Linked DNA regions of Homo sapiens: regions 2, 3, 4, 5 and 6 are each linked to region 1. Evidence: promoter capture Hi-C in 16 types of primary human blood cells and fetal thymus (Javierre and others, 2016). All regions are on one chromosome and are shown on one strand. Each heading gives the region's core, a stretch centred on a gene start or on the middle of the fragment in contact. The rest is flanking DNA. Distances are from core to core; before and after follow the strand shown.

Region 1 (3,636 bases), core at 151-2,650:
GAACTTACTCATCTAACCAAACAGCACCTGTTCCCCAATAACCTATGGAAATAAAAAAAAAATTATAAAAAAATCTGTATAGGCATGTTAAAAAAAGGAAGGACAGAAATACCATTCAACTCAGCAATCCCATTACTGGGTATATACCCAAAGGAACATAAATTATTGTTTTATTAAAGACACATGCACACATATGTTAACTCCAGCACTATTTACAATAACAAAGACATGGAATCAACCTAACTACCCATTAATGATAGAATGGATAAAGAAAATGTGGTACATATACACCATGGAATACTATGCAACCATAAAAAATAATGAGATCATGTCCTTTGCAGGGACATGGATGGAGCTGGAGCCTATTATCCTTAGCAAACTAACACAAGAACAGAAAACCAAATGCTGCATGTTCTCACTTATAAGTGGGAGCTAAATGATGAGAACACATGGACACATAGTGGGGAACAACACACACTGGAGCCTACTGCAGAGTGCATGGTGTGAGAAGGGAGAGGATCAGGAAAGACAACTAGTGGGTACTAGGCTTAATACCTGGGCGATGAAATAATCTTTACAACAAGCCCCCATGACAGAAGTTAACCTATGTAACAAACCTGCACATATATCCCTGAACTTAAAAGTTAAAAAAAAAAAAAGATTCTTGTATCCCATCTCGGATCTACAGAATCACAATCTCAAAAATGAGCCGTAAGAACCTGCATTTTAACAAGCTCTACAATTATTGTGGTACATACTGATGTTTGAAAAGTACTGCCCTAGACACTCTTACCTCAGGCCGTTATAGTGAGTCCATACACTTAAAAATAAGCGTCTTTCCAAGTACTTTAAAGATTCAAAATGATAGTGGATCTGAAATGCCGCCTGAGTCCCCATGACAACGTGTACACTGTGGGGCCCAACCAATAAAGATAAGAAAAGCTTTGGCGGTCAAGCATACTTGGGAAGCTGCAGTTTCTAGAACAGTCTAGTAGAGGACAGCCTCTTCAGCAGCCTGCTAGGCATTTTTTTACTTCTTCCTTCTGTTATGCAGACAAGCTAACTGAAGATGCGGTTACTGAGATATAATTTCTCTGCTAGGTCACAAAGTCTGAAAACATGGGCCTTACGTGTGTAACTGTGTATCATCACCTGCCACCCCCAGTTTTTCCTGGCTCTACTAATCACCCAAAGTTCTGAATGCAGAAGCCCCAGGGGCCCCCGGAAGATCCTTCAAGCTGGCATCCTTGGCCTCGCTGCGGGGGCTTAGCTACCTGTGGGAACCCACGTAGCAAGGGTGACTCAAAGGGTTAACAAGCAGTGGCGCCGCAGAGTGGCGGGGAGTGCAGCCAATAGGGTGTCTAGGCAGGCAGTACGTCTGGTGTGGGCGGGAGTGAGCCAAAGTGTGCTAAAGGAAACCAACAGCGGCCTAGGGGTGAAAGGACAGCCAGGGTTAGATGTTCTGAGGAGGCGGGAGCAACCGAGAGAGCACGTGAGCATCTGTCCTTTCTACCCGTTCCTCTTTATCTTTAGTGTTCAGTAGCAGCGGGGATAGCCCGGGGCCCGGTGTATGGCCACGGAGTTACAGTGTCCGGACTCCATGCCCTGTCACAACCAGCAAGTAAACTCTGCCTCAACCCCAAGTCCCGAGCAGCTGCGACCTGGCGATCTGATCCTGGACCACGCAGGGGGAAACAGAGCCTCCAGGGCCAAGGTGATTCTCCTCACGGGGTACGCCCATTCTAGCCTGCCGGCCGAGCTGGACTCTGGGGCCTGCGGCGGCTCCAGCCTCAACTCAGAGGGCAACAGTGGTAGTGGTGACAGTAGCAGCTATGACGCACCAGCTGGCAACTCCTTCCTAGAGGACTGCGAACTCTCCCGGCAGATCGGGGCGCAGCTTAAGCTGCTGCCTATGAATGATCAGATACGGGAGCTACAGACCATCATCCGTGACAAGTAAGCCAAGAGCGGAAGGGGAAAGGGAAGTGGAGGGTCTTGCAGGCTGTGGGCGGGGATTGGAAGTAAAAGGGCTAAGAGACAGTGTTCTTGGCCTTGGCAAACTTTGGAGATTGGGGTAAGACCTTTTATTTGGTGTGTGTGTGTGTGTGTGTGTGTGTGTGTGTGTGTGTGTGTCGTGTAACTCGAACGCCAACCTTCTCTTTCCAAGTTCCGGTGTCTAACATCACTTTGGGTGGGGAGGAAGACTTTAGGTAGCCTCTGGGCTCTTTGTCTCTCCCAGGAAAGACAACTCCTTGGCCATTCCAGGCAGGTAAACTCCCCTATACTATGTGGGCAGTGCTTGTCCACATGGTAAACCTATAACCCAGAAATGGTTACTATCCAAGGTTATGCACTACCACCAATCACCTCAGGTTCATAAATAGAAATAAAGCAATTTCAAGGAAATTCTATTCAGGCCCTGACCCTTTAGTATTTGCTACTGCAAACAAGGTCTTTTAGTCTTGGAGTTCAGGTTTACTTGATCACATGAAAGCTTATCGTCCAACTCTTATCATTTTTCACTGTAAACTCACAGAACATAGTTAATGGATCAAAGGGAGCCTAAAGGAGCCTTTGGCCCTTCCTAATCCCACAAACCAATGTAGCCAGAACTTCATGTTAAAATGTAATTTTGAAATTTCTAAACCTACGTTGTAAATGGGTTTTCTCCAGGGAAATATGTACCATGATGAACTACAGCTATTTTCTTTATTGGCAGCACTTTAAATGAGCAGCATATCAAAACACCCCTTTTTTAGTGGCAGGGGTTGGGGGGACATGCCTTGATCTTTTAAAAATGGCTACTGAATGACAGATGCCACTCCCTAAACCAGACTCTAGAAACCTTGTCTTACACTATTGTAATAATACTGTTTCTCTGCTTGCAGTTTTTCCTCTCTTCCACATGCACCCATACATTACTGTACAATCAATCTTCATAACATACATCTTTGATTCAGTAATTGCCCTACTCAGCAACCTTCTTTGGCTTCTCAGAGCCTACCAAATAAAGTCCAGGATCCTTAGCTTGATTGATATTTTTGAGACAGGATCTTTCTCTGTCACCCAGGCTGGAGTGCAGTGGTGAGATCACAGCTTACTGTACCCTCATACTTCTGGGCTCAAGTAATCCTCCTGCCTTAGCCTCCTGAGTAGCTGGGACTACAGGGACATGGCACTGCCCCCCGGCTAATTTTTTATTTTTTTGTAGAGATGGAGGTCTTGCTATATTGTCCACGATGGTCTTGAACTCCTGGCCTCAAGCAATCCTCGTGCCTCGGCCTCCTAAAATGTTGGGATTACAGGTGTGAGCCACCATGCCTGGCCCCCTTAGCTTGGGATGAAGGCCCTTCTTCATAGTTCCTAGGAACAATTCTGAAACATATCTGTTTCTGCTCTCATCTGGAATTCCCTGTGTCTCCTTTATGTACGTTCAGGATACTTATTCTTCAGGGTGAAACACAGCATTAAATAATTGTCCACCTCTGCCAAGAAGCTTCCCTTTAATCATTATTCCTGGCTTATCTTCCCTGGTCTTTTTAATGCAAGATTCACCTTCTTTTTCGTATATTGTTATTTTTGTATAGATCTTATCCTGCCTATGACATCTTGAAGGCAGAAATCTTTTACATTTTT
Region 2 (3,499 bases), core at 491-2,990, 880 kb after region 1:
TTTCCTGTTTTCTTTCGCCCACCCATCTTTCACAGAAAAAGATACTTAATATCAAAGTTAATCAGGTAATAAAAATTTTAATCATGGTGAGATACTATTTCTTTTCTATCAGATAACTCTTTGATTTGGGGACTAAAAAGGGTACTAGAAAATGACATCCTTAGGAAGTAATATCCGGGAAGCTCAGCTTGGCCAACTACGTAACACTGTGGCTATTTGAGGAAAGTGGTGATTTTGAAGAGAGGACTACATTGCCTTCTCAGGTGTGTCTCCTTTGCCCAGCTCCCATGGGATCAAATATGAATCCAGTGAGGGCTGCAAGTTATATTTATGAGTTCAGAAACAGTGCAAGTCACTTGGCACAGCCTAAATAACTCCATCTGAAAGCAGTTGGTCAGTGCAACTGGTGGGCCGGTGGTCAAAACAAAGGTTACTCTTGTGCCACCAGCACCAAGGAGCCATTCTTAGAGATGTCTGGTTATTCCTTGGTCCAGAGCCCTGAATTATCCTGTAGATGTGTCTGAATCAGAACAGAGTAAATACCAAGTTAGCAGGAAAAGCTCATCACTACTCTCATTCCTATCTCTCCTCTGGCTGCTCACCTAGTGAGCTCTGCAGCAATATGCTTAGTAGCCCCAGCCAGGGTGTGATGGCCACCAATGTTATCACCAGGCTTAGACAGAGGAAGGCTTGATGTTATATTCTGACATACAGTGCCATATCCTTACCTGAGAATGGAATGGAATGACAAAGGAGATCTGAATTATGGGTGTGAGAAAAGTTTCAGACAATTCTGAGTGAAAAATTAGTCCAATTCCTAAATGACCAAATTGTTCTGATTAGTTAGAAAAAAAGCACAACGGAGGCAGAAACTTTTCTACATTTCTAGCTGAGAAAATTTAAAGATGGGGCTTGAATTACCAAGTGTTAATAGTATTTAAAAATGTTTTATGTTTCTATGAAAAATTGCTCTGTGACTATAAGAAAGTAAAACAAGAAAGAAGGAAGAAAGGAAGCATTGAGACAGAGTAAACAAAGCCAATGAAGGGAAGGAGAAAACAGGGACGATATATAGAGAAAAAGCATGGGCTCAGTTCATTTTCCTCTTTAAAATCCAGAGCTACCTGCCTCTAAAGTTCAAAGTCTTGTCTATAACATCCTGGTGTTGTGCTTTCTGAGTGGGGCTTTCAGAACTTCCCTTGGGGAAAGCCTATGATGCACTGCAAAGAGATGGGCATGTCTGAGGTCAGTGCACATCCAGTGTGATAGCCCCAACTCACCACAGTATCAAGGAGTTGCAGCTGGACCCACAAGTACTAGGGCTAACATATGCCTATTTCTCCCCCATGCTCAACCTAGGTATCTCCCTTAGCAGATGTGGAGCAAAATAACCTTTGCAGAAAATAATCTTAGAGCTTAAACCTGAGCTATGTCTGGAAAGTCCATGGCATTCTGAATAATCTATAATTTACTGAGCATTTGCTGTATTCTAGTCCCTGTGCTAAGAGCTCATACATTCATGTCTTATATAATTCCATCATTGAAATAAGCACATAAGTCAAATGTGTCTGTAATCTTCACTTTCAAAGTGAAGAAGCCAAGACTCTGCATTTAAGAGACTTGCCTAAGTTCACATAGATAATAAAACTCAGTTACCTCCGAAATAAAAGATGACATAACTTTAACCACAAACCATCATGGCCCTGAAACTATGAGAGTAAGGTTGGTAACTTCCAAGGAGGAGGTGAATTTAAATCTATCCTGATTCCAGATCATTTGTACTGCCCCTGGTATAGTTGGAGAGGTGTCACTCTTTTTCTTTTTCTTTTCTCTCTCTCTCTCTCTTTTTTTTTTTTTTTTTTTTTTTGAGATTGGGTCTCACTCTGTCACCCAGGCTGAAGTGCAGTGGCATGATCTTGGTTCACTGCAACCTCCACCTCCCAGGCTCAGGTGATCCTCCCGCCTCAGCCTCCCACGTAGCTGGAACCACCACGCCCAGCTAATTTTTTGTATTGTTAGTAGAGACGGAGTTTTGCCCTGTTGCCCAGGCTGGTCTCGAACTCCTGAGCTCAAGCGATCCACCCATCCTGGCCTCCCAAACTGCTGGGATTACAGGCATGAACCACCACACCCGACCCACTCTTTTTCTTAAATGCATTCATGCACATGCATATGTACATATGTGCACACACATACTCATATACTAACACAGACTGGTATGGGACAGTCTGAGTCTTATGTGATCCATACTCAGCAGTTAACAATAATTATTTCTGTACCCTTACCTATGGAAGACATTCAATCAAAAGTGGCAATTGCTAAGGTTTTCATGGGAACTTAATGTGTCAGGAGATTTTAACCTTAACCTTAAGATGTATTCACTTCAGGAGTCAAGCGCCTTCCAGCATGGTCACAGGATAGTTTTCATGTCTTTGTCTTCCAGTAATGCTTTGAATGTATTGTCATTAATCCATTCATGCAACAAAAAGTCATGGCACTCCTCTAATATGTGTCAGCCACTGTGCTATTCCTTGGAATCACTATCATTATAATTACTACTGTCTTTTTTTTTTTTTTGGTAATGGTCAGTTTTAGTATAACAATATATCTCACTAGGATGAGTGCATTATAAGAGGGTACTGTGCATTTTTCATCACTACATGTCTAGGTCTTAGACACATATGGACATAGCTCTGAGTAGGCGATCAACAAATATGGGGGATTAAATGACAAATTTCATGGGGTATATAGCGTATGTAAGAAATAAGGAACACTGGAGCCCTGGCTGGCAAGATGGCCAAATAAGAACACCTCCAGTCTGCAGCTCCCAGCGAGATCAATGCAGAAGGTGGGTGATTTTTACATTTCCCACTAAGGTACCCAGTTCATCTCACTGGGACTGGTTGAACAGTGGGTGCAGCCCAAGGAGGGTGAGCCAAAGCAGAGTGGGGTGTTGCCTCACCAGGGAAGCGCAAGGGGTCCGGGAGCTCCCTCTCCTAGCCAAGGGAAGTCATTAGGGACTGTACTTTGCACTTAGGCCCAGATACTGTGCTTTTCCCACAGTCTTGGCAACCCACAGACCAGGAGATTCACTCTGGTGCCCACACCACCAAGGCCCTGGGTTTCCAGCACAAAACTGGGCGGCCATTTGGGCAGACACTGAGCTAGCCGCAGAAGTTTTTCATACCCCAGTGGCACCTGGAACGCCAGCAAGACAGAACCGTTCACTCCCCTGGAAAGGGGGCTGAAGCCAGGGATCCAAGTGGTCTGGCTCGGTGGGTCCTACCCCCACGGAACCCAGCAAGCTAAGATCCACTGGCTTGAAATTCTCGCTGCTACCACAGCAGTCTGAGCTCGACCTGGGATGCTCCAGCTTGGTGGGGGGAAGGGCGTCTGCCATTGCTGACGCCTGAGTAGATGGTTTCACCCTCACAGTGTAAACAAAGCCGCCTAGAAATTCCATCTGGGCAGAGCCCACCACACCTCACTCAGCAAGGCC
Region 3 (3,317 bases), core at 168-2,667, 740 kb before region 1:
GAGGAACAGAAAACCAATGACAAGAGAACTCCAATTTCTTTTCTTTTCTCTTTTTTTTTTTTTTTTTTTTGAGACAGAGTCTTGCTCTGTCACCAGGCTGGAGTGCAGTGGTGCAATCTTGGCTATCTCAGCTCATTGCAACCTCTGCCTGCTGGGTTCAAACGATTCTCCTGCCTCAGTCTCCCGAGTAGCTGGGAGTACAGGTGCGTGCCACCACACCCAGCTAATTTTTTGTATTTTTAGTAGAGACGGGGTTTCACTGTGTTAGTCAGGATGGTCTCGATCTCCTGACTTCGTGATCCACCTGCCTCAGCCTCCCAAAGTGCTGGGATTACAGGCGTGAGCCACCACACCCGGCAACTCCATTTCTTTTCTGTAGGATTTATTGTAAACATTGATTCACGCATTAGCTTCTCCTAGGCTGGTCAAATGAGTTAATTCAACAAATATTCTTCGAACACAAATTATGTGCAAGGTGATATGAGGGCACTGTGTGACAGTGGCAAAAGCTTTCACTCAGGCTTCTGGGCAACAGCCACACTACCCATTGGGGGAAGGGGGCCTCTACTCACCCCCTGATCCAAACAGTGCCCCAGAATCCACATTTCTTTCCAATTTGCTTAACTCCTGAGTAAGCAAAAGGCCAAGGGCCTTTTTGCCTTTTCTGAATACTGTTTCTGGGCTCTGAGGTACTACGAGGTACCACATATTAGCTTCTGGAAGTGAGTAGGGAAGGCCTTGCATCCCATGTCAAACATATCCTTGGTTTGGCAGCTTGGAGAAACCCAGAGGGGACAACCATATATGTAACTGAAAGGAACACGTATAGCCTCTTGCTAGGACAAATGGAACTTCAGAGAAGGGTCACTTCAGAGAAAAGGAAAATAAAAACTCATCTGAAATGTACCACAGGAACCATTTGTGGGGGCAGGGGGCGGGGGTAGGAGGCTGGGAAATATCACTGTGGACCAAGACAACACTTGGCCATCTTCTGTGGATTTCTTTTAAACTAGGTTTCCTCCTAACTCCGTAACTAGGTGTGACTAGATCTTAGATTGATGAAAGTCATAAATGGAGAAACTTTAAGAGAAGCTTCATTAGCTTCTTTCATAATGAGCATTCGCTCAAGGGCCTGCAGCCCCAATGCCTTGAAGTTGAGGGAGCTCCTGAGTTAAGGCAATACACGCCAAGATTATCTGGATAGGCACTGTGATGGCCCCTAGAACGGGCTGAGAGTACCTTTGGACAGTAGGGCAAAGCTGAGCTTGACTTGTCTCTCTTGACTGTTTCAGGCCTACTCCGCAACTGTTTTGGGGACTACCATGTGGCCTTCTACTTTGCCGGTGTGCCCCCCATCATCGGGGCTGTAATCCTCTTCTTCGTCCCTCTGATGCATCAAAGGATGTTCAAGAAAGAGCAGAGAGATTCCAGCAAGGATAAGATGTTGGCCCCTGACCCAGACCCCAATGGGGAGCTACTGCCGGGCTCCCCCAACCCTGAGGAACCAATCTAATGCCTTTCTTGCCATTGTGTGCCCTTTCCCAGCTCTTCCCCTTCATCCCACCCTGCTCAGCATTTACATTTTTGCCACCAGCACACTTGTTCCCAGACCTGCGCACACAGCATTTCAGCCACCTGACAATCTCCTTGGAGTCAAAGCTCCAGGTGTTCCAAACTCATTAACTAAATTCTCCCCAGAATGCTTTTAAATTTTCCAGGGCCTTTCTCCTCCCAGGATCTGGGAAAGCTTGGGAACCACCCCTGGCCTTTGGAACCTCTCCATATACTTTCTAAGCTCTGGGGGAGGAGGAGGATGGGACCTCCTGGACCCAGCTTGTTAGTCACCCACTATAATCAACTGCCAAAGGTGCTACTGTGTCCCCAGGAGCCTAATAGGGTAGGCCCAAATCTCTGTTTGCTGAGGAGGTCATTGCCATCCATATTTGGGAGCCACTGGGTGGAGGGGCAGGGAGGCAAAATGAGACAAGTAGCCTTGGTTAGTCTTAGAGTTGCTGATGACTGTGGCTTCCCAAGAACTGGGTACAAGCAGTGCCCTTATTGTATGGTTGGTTAACAGTCTGCTCCCCTCTTCCCTTCCTTCTTTTTTTCCTCTACTGACTTCTCTCCATACTCTTTCCCCTCTATTTCTTTGTATGACTGTCATAGACACATGGGTGCTTGAAGAAAGGAGGGACCCGGAACTTGGGCCAATCAGCCTCACCTTGTCCCAGTCCACTCCTAACACTAGCATCAGTCCCACTCATCTCAGGCTGAGCCACATCTCACTTTTTCGCTCAAGCTATATAATCCTAGACTGGAAGAGTAGAATATCATATAGGGAAGAAACCTTAAACACCACAGTGTTCCATGTTCCAGTCACTGATTTTTACAAATCTTACAGTCCAAGGCATTAACCTCAAGGCCCTCCCAGCACCCCATTCTTGTATACACATGGCAAAATGTGAAGAAACTCCTTTCATCTCAGCAGGTAGAGGAGGACTGATGACACGAGCTGCCATGGCGGGAGGAGGGGCAGTAGTTATTGATATGGTGAGCCCCATCTCTCAGTTTTCATGACAGGTCTATATTTCTACCTGGGCCAGGCCAGGAAAGAGACTATTTAAGAAAAAAAAAATCAATTCCTAGCCTGGATCCCAAAAAGGTACAGGCAGCAGTTGCACATAGGGTTGGAAAATTTCTTTTGGGAAGGGGAAGCCATCCCAGCCTTTACCACCCAATGTGTCTCCCATGCTGGGCATCCTAGGCCACTTTGCTTAGAGGGCATTAAAGGTGCCATGAAAGGTAGACTCTGAACCACTTTGATCCCTCTGAAGTAGGTGACTGATGCCTCCTTATGCCCAGGCTCTGGCAACAGTCTTACTGAAGAACATTCCCAGTGCCCCTGGCTAGGGGCAGAGGGCACTGCCAGGCTGTGTTCAGTTAGCACAGCTCACCTCATTAGGAGCTCAGCCTCTCTCCTCACTCTGCCTCTTTGTGTCTCTTTTTCTCCTCTCTGAGCCTTTGTCTATTGTGTTCCTGTCACCCACCCTTTCATCATCTTTTTGCCAGGCATTCCTGGCTGTCACTTGGAGCCAACAGTAACTTGCCACCTTAAGGCAGGGTCATCCCCGGGCCAGGAGGATGAGGTTGTCCTGAGGGGCTCCAAAGAAGACAATAGTTCCCACTCATGATTTTCCGTTACAAACAGGCAGCTGGGGCATGGTTGGCCTCCAATGATTTCATTCAAGGCCAAAGTCCTGAGCCCCCTCCGCTGGTCCCAGTCCAGCTCTTATCAACTCCCCAAAGGAAAACCCACT
Region 4 (3,229 bases), core at 228-2,727, 700 kb before region 1:
GGATTGGGTGACTGGGCATATTAGCTGTTCCAAAATATATGTTAAATTTACTTGTTGAATTTAGGTTACCCATCAGTAAAATCACTAACAAGTAAAGAAATCACCAAGTGGCATCTAATGAAAAGGATCTGTGTAATCAGCTCTTTAAAAAATTAAGAACTCAGCTGTCCCTTTTCTTCATTATCTGGGCAACCCTTATCCCTACAGTTATTAGCGAAACAAAACAACAATGCTGGCCCAGTTATCAGGGAGAAGCTTGTTTTGTCTCATTTGTGATATTGGGTCCTAGCTGCTAATTTTCTCAGCGATGGCAGAAAAAGGTAATTCAGGTCGGCTGTGGTGGCTCACGCCTGTAATCCTAGCACTTTGGGATGCCAAGGTGGAAGGATTGCTTGAGCTCAGGAGTTTGAGAGCAGCCTGGGCAAAAGGGCAAGACCCTGTCTTAATTTTTTTTTTAAAAAAGGTCATTCAAACCAGATTAGACTAAAATAACACAAAGAGCCACATCACTGTTTATATGAATCTCACAAGCTGAGTTTCTTAGGAAAGGAAGGAAACCTGGAAAGAGAAGTCAAAAGCCTACAGCAAGGCAGAGCTGTCTCCAGGGTACTGGGTACTCAGCTTCCCTGCACTTCCACCTGGGGAAGGAAAGGATAGGTATGGGAAAGTCTTCTGCTGTGGTGTCATGCAGTGGCCCTAGTCAGATCTGTCTTCTAGCCCTGATTTTGCCACTTAGTAGTATTTAAGTAAGAGCACTTCACTCCTACCATTAAGACTCTCCAACAGCTTCTCATCTCAGAATGAAATTCTATCTCCCTTCCTTGGACTATACAACCCTTATGAACTGGCCCTGCCTTAACTTGTACTGCTTCCCCAGTTCAACACTGCCCCTTTTCCTCCTTCCAGATAATGAGCTGAGTCCATTCCCTGGAGTTGGAAGGTTCTGCCTCCATCTATTCATTCAGGTCTCAGCTTGTGATCACCTCCTCAGGTCTTCTCCAACCACCCTATCACATCTCAGTCACAATCACATCACCCCATCTACTTTGCTTCCCAGCATTAAAGCAGTATCTGAATTTGTATTTACAAAAATATTATCTGCCTATCCCTATTAGAACGTAACCTTCTGCCGGGCGTGATGGCTCACGCCTGTAATCCCAGTGCTTTGGGAGGCTCAGGTGGGCAGATCACAAGGTCAGGAGATCGAGACCATCCTGGCTAACACAGTGAAACCCCGTCTCTACTAAAAATACAAAAAATTAGCCAGGTGTGGTGGCGGGCACCTGTAGTCCCAGCTACTCGGGAGGCTGAGGCAGGAGAATGGCGTGAACCCAGGAGGCGGAGCTTGCAGTGAGCCGAGATAGCGCCATTGCACTCCAGCCTGGGCGACAGAGCGAGACTCCGCCTCAAAAAACAAACAAACAAACAAACAAACAAAAACAAAGAAAGAATGTAACCTCCATGATGGCAGGGGTCTTGGTCTTGTTGACCACAGTACCCCTTGTACTTGGAACAGTGCTTGAGACATAGATTCCTAGTATTTTTTTTTGTAAAGACAGGCTCTCACTATGTGGCATAGGATGGTCTTGAACTCCTGGCGTCAAGCAATTTTCCCACTTTCGCCCCCCAAAGTGTTGCCATTACAGGCATGAGCCACTGTGCCCAGCTAAAATATTTTCTTGAATGATCAATACTGGCAGTGGGACCCGGAGCATGTCACTTAACCTCTGATTCTGTTATAAAATGCAAATATCCAATTGCCCCCAAATTGTTATGAATAACATATTAAGAGGACAAATGTAAAAAGGCCAGGCAGCTAGTAAGTATTCAACATATTTTGGTATATGACCTACTCATCAATCTGTAACCATCTCTCTATCTCCCCCTCCCTTTCAAGGCCACACTGGCAGTTCATGTTAACCTTTCAGTGGGAGCAAAGAGTGTGTAGTAGAGTGGTGGTGACTGGAGAGGGTGGGTGGTATAAATTGCAGTATACTTTCTTGTGAGTCTCATGGTACCTCTTTGGAACACTTATAGGTAGATATTTGAGTCATCCACAAAGACGTCAGAGTCAGGAACCTAGCCCACTCATTTCTAGGCTTTGGTTTATAAGCTGGTATTTTTGAACAGGAAATAAGGCCTAAGCCAGGTCTAGTTTATATATGCTGGGCAGTTAACCTATAAGGTATTCAAAATCAAACATACCGGCAAGGTGCGGTGGCTCATGCCTGTAATCCCAGCACTTTGGGAGGCTGAGGCCGGTGGATCACCTGATGTCAGGAGTTCGAGACCAGCCTGGCCAACATGACAAAACCCCGTCTCTACTAAAAATACAAAAATTACCCTGATGTGGTGGTGTGGGCCTGTAATCCCAGTGATTTGGGAGGCTGAGGCATGAGAATCGCTTGAACCCAAGAGGTGGAGGTTGCAGTGAGCCAAGATCGCAAAACTGCACTCCAGCCTGGGCAACAGAGTGAGACTCTCTCAAAAAAAAAAAAAAAAAAACAAAACAAAATCAAACATACCAATAACAATACTGAAGGGAACACCTTGGGGTGGGATAGAAGCAAAGAACAAAATGTCCTCTCCAGCTTTTTTTTCTCTGCAGGTGGTTTTGACCTGTCTTTAAAAGACAGAGAAAGGGTTCAGTCAGGGCCCATGTCTATACAAGGGCTATTAAACAGCACTTATACTAAAATGAAGCTTGGAATGTAATTTCTATTTAGCAGATTAGACTGATTTTCCTGTTTAAATATATAGATGCTTCTGGTCCCCAAAAGTGGGGAAAGGGGATTAATTCAGATGCTGAAGAAGATAACTTCTCAGTGCCTACTGCAGCAAGGCAAAAAAAAGATAGCTTCATTATTAGGGGAAGGTTTCTTTTCCATCAGAGCGATTGGGCAGAATTTGGGCTTAGTTGCTTGCTGAGTTGGTCTCTTGTTTTAGGAACAATCTTGTACCTTCGTGCCAACAGACACTGTTCCATTATTTTCTTTCTTCCAGGAAAGGGGAGGGCCAAGGCAAAACAATGAATGAATTTTCCTGAATTCTTGCCTTCAATCTAGATGGGGTTACACCCAAGATTATTAAAAAAAGAAATAAAAAGAAAAAAGAAAGGCTGAGTGATGTGCTTCTCTGGCATCTTCCAAGTTAGCAGCTGGATTCATGTACTACAGATAGGTTGGAGTCACCCACGCTAGAAACCAACATCTGTCCTCTACTACCAAGT
Region 5 (3,733 bases), core at 589-3,088, 980 kb after region 1:
CACAGGTATCAGGGAAATCTTGCTTTACTTTTGTAAGAAGCCTATTTGAAGACCTGATTATTCCTTTTAGATTACGATGCCATTGATACAAAATGTGTAGTTCTGCCTCTATTCTCATCCAATCTCTGGGCGACACAGGATAAGTTATCTCTGGTGTTTTAGAAGAAGAGCTAGTGCATAACCAGCAGTTGTTGGAGTAAGGAAATTCTGTGCTTTGAAGCAACTGTAGTGCTTTTTCCAATTAAGAAAAATCAAGATGGTACTGTGCTGCTAGTAAAGAGGTGAAAATGAGAATTAGCAGGAGTGGGCCCATGGTGCCATAATGAGATTGTGAAAAAGAGAAATTAGTAACAAATCAAGTTGTAAAGGGAATTGCCCGAAAGTAAGTTAAGGTGAAGAAAAATTAGCAACAAAGTAGTTTCTCTTGGGACTTTGGGGGGGCATACAGGTTAGGGTTAAAATAAGGTGAATAAGTGATGCTATTGCAAACAGTATTCCTAATATTGGAATTATATTACTTTGAGGTGAAAGGATCTGCGGAGGCATTGGTTATCTTTCCATCTAAAGAGGAATTTCAGATCCTTCAATTGTTCACAATGTATTCTGGAGTTGAAGTCGTTGGATTCAGTTCCAGTGTTTAAGGGCCTTTCCAATACTTCACTCAGGTGTAGTGTATCCAGCTGCTAATCTCTGTTACTTTAATGGCCGTGAGGGTAGAAATAGAAAATGCAACAGTAAAGGGTCTCTCTTTGACTGGAGTTAGTTGGGAATTTGGGGTTCTATTCTTCCAAGCTTTGAGGAGAACCAGTGAGTTTGGAGGATATAGAGGTGGAGATTTTTTCTCTTCTAATTTTGTGTTTGTTTTTAACCCATATTCCTGGAGGGCTTGATGGAGGTCTGCTAGAAAAGAGACATACTGGTTGATTTTAGCAGTTTCTTCATCTAGCAGTAAGTCAGAATACAGGAATGGCCTAACATATAAGGCCTTGAAGGGGCTTAATTGCAAAGGGGTCTGAGAGGCAACACAAATCTGAAGGAGAACTAAAGGTAAGAGGTCCACCCATGTCTGTACTGTTTCCTGACAGAGTTTATTGAGGATGTGTTTGAGGGTTTAGCTAGTTCTTTTCAGGTTCCCTGAAGATGGTGGTCTCCAGGCAAAGTGAAGGTACCCTTTTATGCCTAGGCAGAACTGACCTGCTGATTCGTTTGGGAAATTAAGGATGGACCATCGTCTATTTGCGGTGACCTAGGAAGCCTGAATTGGGGAATGAGTTCCCTTAGGAGGAATTAGCTGCCTCTTGTGTCTTTTCAGTCCTTGTGGGATAGGCCTGTACCCATCCTGTGAAGGTGTCTACACAGACCAAGAAGTACTTATGCCCGCAGCATGTGGTGAGCTGAGTATAGTGCAACTGCCAGTCCTCCCCAGGGTATGTACCTGTCCTTTGGGTTGGACTTGGGGGCTTCCCTCTTTGGGGATTACTTATGATGCACAAGTTGAAAGGTTGACAAACATGTTGAATAGTTTTGTTTATTCTCTTCCTATCTACTTGATATAGTTTGGATCTGTGTCTTAACCAAATATCATGTCAAATTGTTGCAGATGAGGCCTGGTGGGAGGTTGTTGAATTATGGGGGTGGATCCTTCATGAATTGTTTAGCATCATCCTCTTGGTGGTGTTCTTGTGAAAGGTAGCTAGCCTTTTTGTACAGCCTGTAGAAGTATGAGACAATTAAACCTCTTTTCTTTATAAATTACCCAGTCTCAGGCATTTCTTCACAGCAATGCAAGAATGGAATAATACACTACTAAACATTAATTTACATATTTGCCGTAGATTGTCCTTTTCAACGTGGCAGGAGTTGTGTGAACTCGTGATGACCTTCTACCCTTGGGAGGCCCTTGGTAGATGGAGAAGTTCCCCAAGTTTGTACCATTTATTGGTTTCTTTTTGATACCTACGTTGGGTGGTTCAATTTATTTCTTCCTGAGTGTATTGGAGAGGGGATAATTCAGTGGGGAGCAATGGGAGTAAGGCCCCAGGTAAGTATCCTTTGAGACAGCTGCCTCTTTAGTTTGGGGTTGGTCATCCTATTTTCTTGTGCAGTTTCATTGGAGCCCCTCTGGTGTCTCTCACAGGGTACTACTGCCACCTCCTGGGTCAAGTGAACAGCATCTAGTAGATCTAAGATTTGGGATCTGTACTGCCCTTGTCAACGTGATGAGTTCCACTAGTTGTGCTGAGGTCCCCACGGGACAGAGCTTTTATCTCTATGACTTGGGAAAGGGACACTATAAAGTACCCTGCATGTCTAGCTCTATTCCAGATAAAACTACTCCCATCTGAAAATCATATTTTGTTTGGATTGTCCAGAAGCTGATCCTCTAAGTCCTCCAAGCTGGCATAAATTTGGTTAAGTATTTCACAGCATAAATGTGCCAGGTTATTGTTTCCTGGTAGTGGAAGTAAGGTTGGCTGAGTTGAGGATGGAGTACCGCTAAACTGTTACCTGTGGGTTTTCTAGTAACAGGCCCTGGTACTTCAACAGTTTGTTGTCAGTGAACCATTGTGGCCCTTTTATGTTCAATAAGGGGCCTGTATGGTGTGATGGCAGGATCTGGATTAACTGTCCCATGGTGATTTTGAGGGCCTCCTAGTATAGGAGCCCTGCTGCACTCACTATCTTGAGGCAGTGTGGTCACCCTCATGCAACTGGGTCTAGGTTCGTTGAAAAGGTACCTACTGGAGATTTGATTAGCCCTATGGTTTGAATTAGGACTCCTAAGGCTACAACTTGTCTTTCAGTAACAAAAAGCTGAAATGGTTTGGTTAGTATGGGTGGTCCAAGGGCTAGAACTTGTGAGAGGGCAGTTTTTAGCTGCCTAAAAGCTTGCTCCTGATATTTTCCCCAGAAAAGCGAGTTTCTATTAGTCATTTTTTTTAAGTCTGATTAAGGACTTAACAATTCTATCATACCCCGGTATCCAAAGTCTGCAATATCCTGTGATTCCCAGAAAGGCCTGAAGTAGCTTTTGGGTGGTTGGGGTAGGTATTTTAAGGATGACCTATATTCATTCTGGGGAGAATTTAGGATCTCCACAGGTCAGGATTATCCCCAGGCATTGGACCTCTTGTCTTAGTAGTTGTGACTTGGATAGTTGGACACTTCATACCCTCTGGGTATTTAACCTCTTGTCTTAGTAGTTGTGACTTGGACACTTGGACACTTGGACACTTCATACCCTCTGCCTGCAAGGAAATTTAGTGTTTGAACTAGATGCTGGATTCCCAGCTCATTCATAGATTAATAGGTTAATAGGCTATTTACATAATCTATTATGCAGATTAACAGGTTATTTATGTAACATAGGAGAAAGGCAGTCTAGGCCACAAGGCCTGCAACTCTTAGATGAGTACTAGTACTGGACTAGGCCCAGAGAGAGTAGACTAGTGGGGCATGCAACCTACTGAGACACCAGCTGGGGCAACTAACAGAGTGCTGGCATCACCCATCCCCTGAAACTAGGCTGCAAAGCATGGGTCCAAAAGAGACCCCATTCTTCCAGTTGTAGGGAGGAGAGAAAAGAGTGGTGAGAAGTTTGTCTTGCATCTTAAATGCCAGCTAAGCCAAAGCAGCATAGGGCACTTCTCAGAGTTGTGGGGCACTGTTCCAGGCCCTAGCTTCCAGATGACATTTTAGACATGCCCGAGCCAACTTCGTACTTTATGCTCAA
Region 6 (3,285 bases), core at 683-3,182, 860 kb after region 1:
AATGTACGTTAGTTGGTAAGATTATACAATAAGGATATCAATTTTGTATCATGTATATTGTAAAGTTTTCCAACTTTATCATTGTCTGTTTATTTATTTATTTATTTATTTATTTATATTTTTGAGACGGAGTCTTGCTATGTCACCCAGACTGGAGAGAAGTGGCGCGATCTCGGCTCACTGCAAGCTCTGCCTCCTGGGTTCACGCCATTCTGCTGCCTCAGCCTCCCCAGCAGCTGGGACTACAGGCGCACACCGTCAAGCCCGGCTATTTTTTTTGTATTTTTAGTAGAGACGGGGTTTCACCGTGTTAGCCAGGATGGTCTCGTTCTCCTGACCTCATGATCCGCTCGCCTCGGCCTCCCAAAGTGCTGGGATTACAGGCGTGAGCCACCGCCCCGGGCTGATTGTCTTTTTAAAATAAAACTTACCGAAAAGGTAATATATTTCATGTATCAAAAACCAAATAGAAGAAGCATAAAGTATCTATTCCAGCTTAATCTCCCATCTCCCCAGTTCCCACCTTCTCCACCCACACAGTTAACTATTTTTATTCATTTCTTCTGTAAACTTTGTGTGTGTTTACATAAGGAGATAGCCCCCACCCACTTTTTCATATAATTTGTAGCATACAATATACACTTTTTGTTTCTTTTCTTTTCTTTCTTTCTTTTTTTTTTTTTTTTTTTTAAGATGGAGTTTCCCTCTTGTTGCCCAGGCTGCAGTGCAGCGGAGCGATCTCGGCTCACCGCAATCTCTGCCTCCCGGGTTCAAGTGATTCGCCTCCCTCAGCCTCCCGATTAGCTGGGATTACAGGCATGCGCCACTATGCCTGGCTAATTTTGTATTTCTTTTTTTAGTAGAGACGGGGTTTCACCATGTTGGTTAGGCTGGTCTTGAACTCCCGACCTCAGGTGATCCACCCGCCTCGGCCTCCCAAAATACTGGGATTACAGGAGTGAGCCACAGCACTAGGCACAATATACACTTTTTAAGTCACTTAAAATATATCTCACTGGTCTTTCCATGTCAGTACATTGAACACTTCCTTGTTATTTTTTGTAGCTTCATTGTATGGTTGTACCATAATTTATTTAATGTGTTGCTCTGATGATAGACATTAAGGTTTTGCTCTTACAAACAATGCTTCAGTAAACAACCTGGCACATATTTTTTTAAAATATATACAAATACCGGCATGTCTGTGGGATAAATTTCCAGAGGTTAATTTGTTTTGTTAGAGCCTTATGCATTCATAAGTTGATAGACGCCCTAAATTGCCTTCAACATGTGTGCCAAATTATACTGTCACCAACAATGTGTCAAAATTTCCCATAGCCTTGCTAACAGTATTTTATCAATTTTTTGGGTGAATTTTTTTGTAATTACAATTGGTGAAAAAATAGTCACATATCTTTGATTTTTAGTAATGGGTTTCCAGCTTAAAATGGTCTTTAATAAGCAGTACTTGATGTTGCCTTTCTTGGCTTCTGACTAATATACAAAAGAAGATCCAGAAGAGGAGGAAAGCTTGCAGTAACTCTGAAAAGTAAGACTGAGAATGAACCCATTGCCAGAATATATGAAACATTCCCATAAATTCTAAATTGAGTGATGTAGTACCCAATTATTGAATACTCACTATATGTGGAGGAACGTATATCTGTCTGTGTACACACACACACACACACACACACACTTCATCATTTCTCCCTTGGAACTCTTCATAATGATCCTGTGAGGATGTGAAATTATGAGCCATATTTGACAAGTGAAGAAACTTTGTCTTGGAAAACTGAAGTGACTGACTTGCCTAAGGCCATGTAATAAGAGGCACATCTGAGGTTCAAACACAGGCATGCCAGACTCCAAACTATAATAGAACTCTTTTCAGTATTTCACATGCTTTATCCCTCTCACACTTTGATTCCTGGCTCAGCAACAGAAAAGTTATACCAGTCAGAAAATTTGCCATCTCCCTCAAAACTTTATTAGCACTGATATCTGAGGTAGTTCAAAACACCTTTCCTTTTTCTATTCCTTCCCACAGATAGTATCTTCCTTTCTATGTCAATAAAGAAACTAGAAGTTGGAAACTCAAAGTGTATGTGCAAGATAGGAGGCTAGATGTAGAAGTGACAATAGGGTTGCAGCTGGCAGCCCATTGCATTCTGGCAAGTGGAGAAGATAACCCAATATAATAATAATGGTTAATATAGATTGAGCTTTTACAGTGGTCAGGGACTTCGCTAAGTGTTTTCCAGGCATTAGTTTATTACAGCAGATTCTTGGGGTAGGTAATATTATTATTCCCTCATTCTAGATGAGGAAATGGAAGCTTGAATAAGTGAAATTACTTGCTGGGATGTTTGTAAAAAGATCTTTGCTCTGGAAGTCAGGAGGCTTCTGTGATACTGCTGCTAGTTTACTTTATAATTTTGTATAAGTGGCTGTCCCTTTCCTTGCTTCAGTGTCTGAACCTGGAATTTTTTATGCGGTTTTTGAGACTCTAAGTTCATTGGGGTGGAATTTGGAAGGGTGGTCAAGCATGAATAGGACTAGAAGGGAACACAAATATTTTTTGCTCAAGACATTAGTCTCAGCTGTACCTCCATATGTCTTTTCCCTGCTTTACCCCTTCCTACTTGTTCTCTTGCTCATGGCACTCATTCTCTTCCCTAGTTGTAGATTTAAGTTAAGTCCAGTAGGAACTTGACACACTCAGAAAATGGATGAAAACCCAAGGGGATGCTACTTTTGGGACCATTGTCTGAGCTTTTTTGGGTTACTGCCACCTGTCACAGTTTAAGAGATGTGGAGAGCCACTCATGGCTGTCAGAGGCTGTGTCAAGGAAACAATATTCTGGTAATGATTTTTATTTACCATGAGGGTTTGGTTTCCTCTTCTGGTGTCTACTTGGACTTCCCTAAGAATTAGTTACCTTGGTTCTTGGGCTTGGCATCAGCCCACAGAGCATGGAGCCAATCAAGTACCATAAGTCCTGCAGAGATTTAAATTTCCTGGTGGCAGCATTTCTGGCACAGGCTTATGTTTTCCTATGGTTACTTAAGCCCTTTATTAATGCACTCTGAGTTTCTCTCATGGTTTGGCTCCTCAAGAAGTCAGGCAGTAGCGTTCAAGGTATGGGGAAGGTATCAGGTCAAGACAGAAATATTTGGCAGCTTTAGGGATTTTCTGTTTCCACTCTTAAGGTGTGCCCTGAATAAGAGCTGTAGAAGAGTCATCTGGGGCTGACTTCTTTGAGGCCCCAAAGAGTCTGGCCT

Evidence for each region. Contacts are between HindIII fragments. The CHiCAGO score rates a contact against its expected background, and 5 or more counts as called.
Region 2: a contact is called between a fragment that was not itself captured here and the fragment with the promoter of UPRT in region 1, in 3 of 17 cell types (naive CD8 T cells, total B cells and monocytes). The highest score is 8.1, in naive CD8 T cells.
Region 3: a contact is called between a fragment that was not itself captured here and the fragment with the promoter of UPRT in region 1, in 1 of 17 cell types (total B cells). The highest score is 5.5, in total B cells.
Region 4: a fragment that was not itself captured here is called in contact with the fragment with the promoter of UPRT in region 1 in 4 of 17 cell types (non-activated CD4 T cells, activated CD4 T cells, total CD4 T cells and 1 more); the score reaches 6.9 in non-activated CD4 T cells.
Region 5: a fragment that was not itself captured here is called in contact with the fragment with the promoter of UPRT in region 1 in 2 of 17 cell types (total B cells and M0 macrophages); the score reaches 7.1 in total B cells.
Region 6: a contact is called between a fragment that was not itself captured here and the fragment with the promoter of UPRT in region 1, in 8 of 17 cell types (fetal thymus, total B cells, activated CD4 T cells and 5 more). The highest score is 12.1, in fetal thymus.

The regions. Positions count from the first base shown.
Region 1 is chrX:75,272,685-75,276,320 of GRCh38, forward strand. UPRT (uracil phosphoribosyltransferase homolog) reads left to right here and starts at 1,401. Exons shown (of 7, transcript NM_145052.4): 1 at 1,401-1,956. The coding sequence starts at 1,571. It overlaps LOC124905200 (a long non-coding RNA gene), which reads right to left and starts at 1,352. Exons shown (of 4, transcript XR_007068269.1): 1 at 794-1,352. RefSeq lists enhancers at 1,292-1,341, 1,362-1,411, 1,572-1,781. The HindIII fragment of the contact is 1,552 bases long and covers 941-2,492 here.
Region 2 is chrX:76,156,243-76,159,741 of GRCh38, forward strand. No RefSeq gene overlaps it. Among named protein-coding and RNA genes, the nearest start is that of PBDC1, 15 kb to the right of the region's middle. The HindIII fragment of the contact is 4,234 bases long and covers 1-3,499 here.
Region 3 is chrX:74,530,041-74,533,357 of GRCh38, forward strand. SLC16A2 (solute carrier family 16 member 2) reads left to right here. Exons shown (of 6, transcript NM_006517.5): 6 at 1,293-3,317. The coding sequence ends at 1,513. Among named protein-coding and RNA genes, the nearest start is that of RLIM, 83 kb to the right of the region's middle. The HindIII fragment of the contact is 655 bases long and covers 1,091-1,745 here.
Region 4 is chrX:74,576,300-74,579,528 of GRCh38, forward strand. No RefSeq gene overlaps it. Among named protein-coding and RNA genes, the nearest start is that of RLIM, 37 kb to the right of the region's middle. The HindIII fragment of the contact is 2,448 bases long and covers 254-2,701 here.
Region 5 is chrX:76,251,484-76,255,216 of GRCh38, forward strand. It overlaps the pseudogene LOC100533728. Among named protein-coding and RNA genes, the nearest start is that of PBDC1, 80 kb to the left of the region's middle. The HindIII fragment of the contact is 2,096 bases long and covers 791-2,886 here.
Region 6 is chrX:76,135,224-76,138,508 of GRCh38, forward strand. No RefSeq gene overlaps it. Among named protein-coding and RNA genes, the nearest start is that of PBDC1, 36 kb to the right of the region's middle. The HindIII fragment of the contact is 808 bases long and covers 1,529-2,336 here.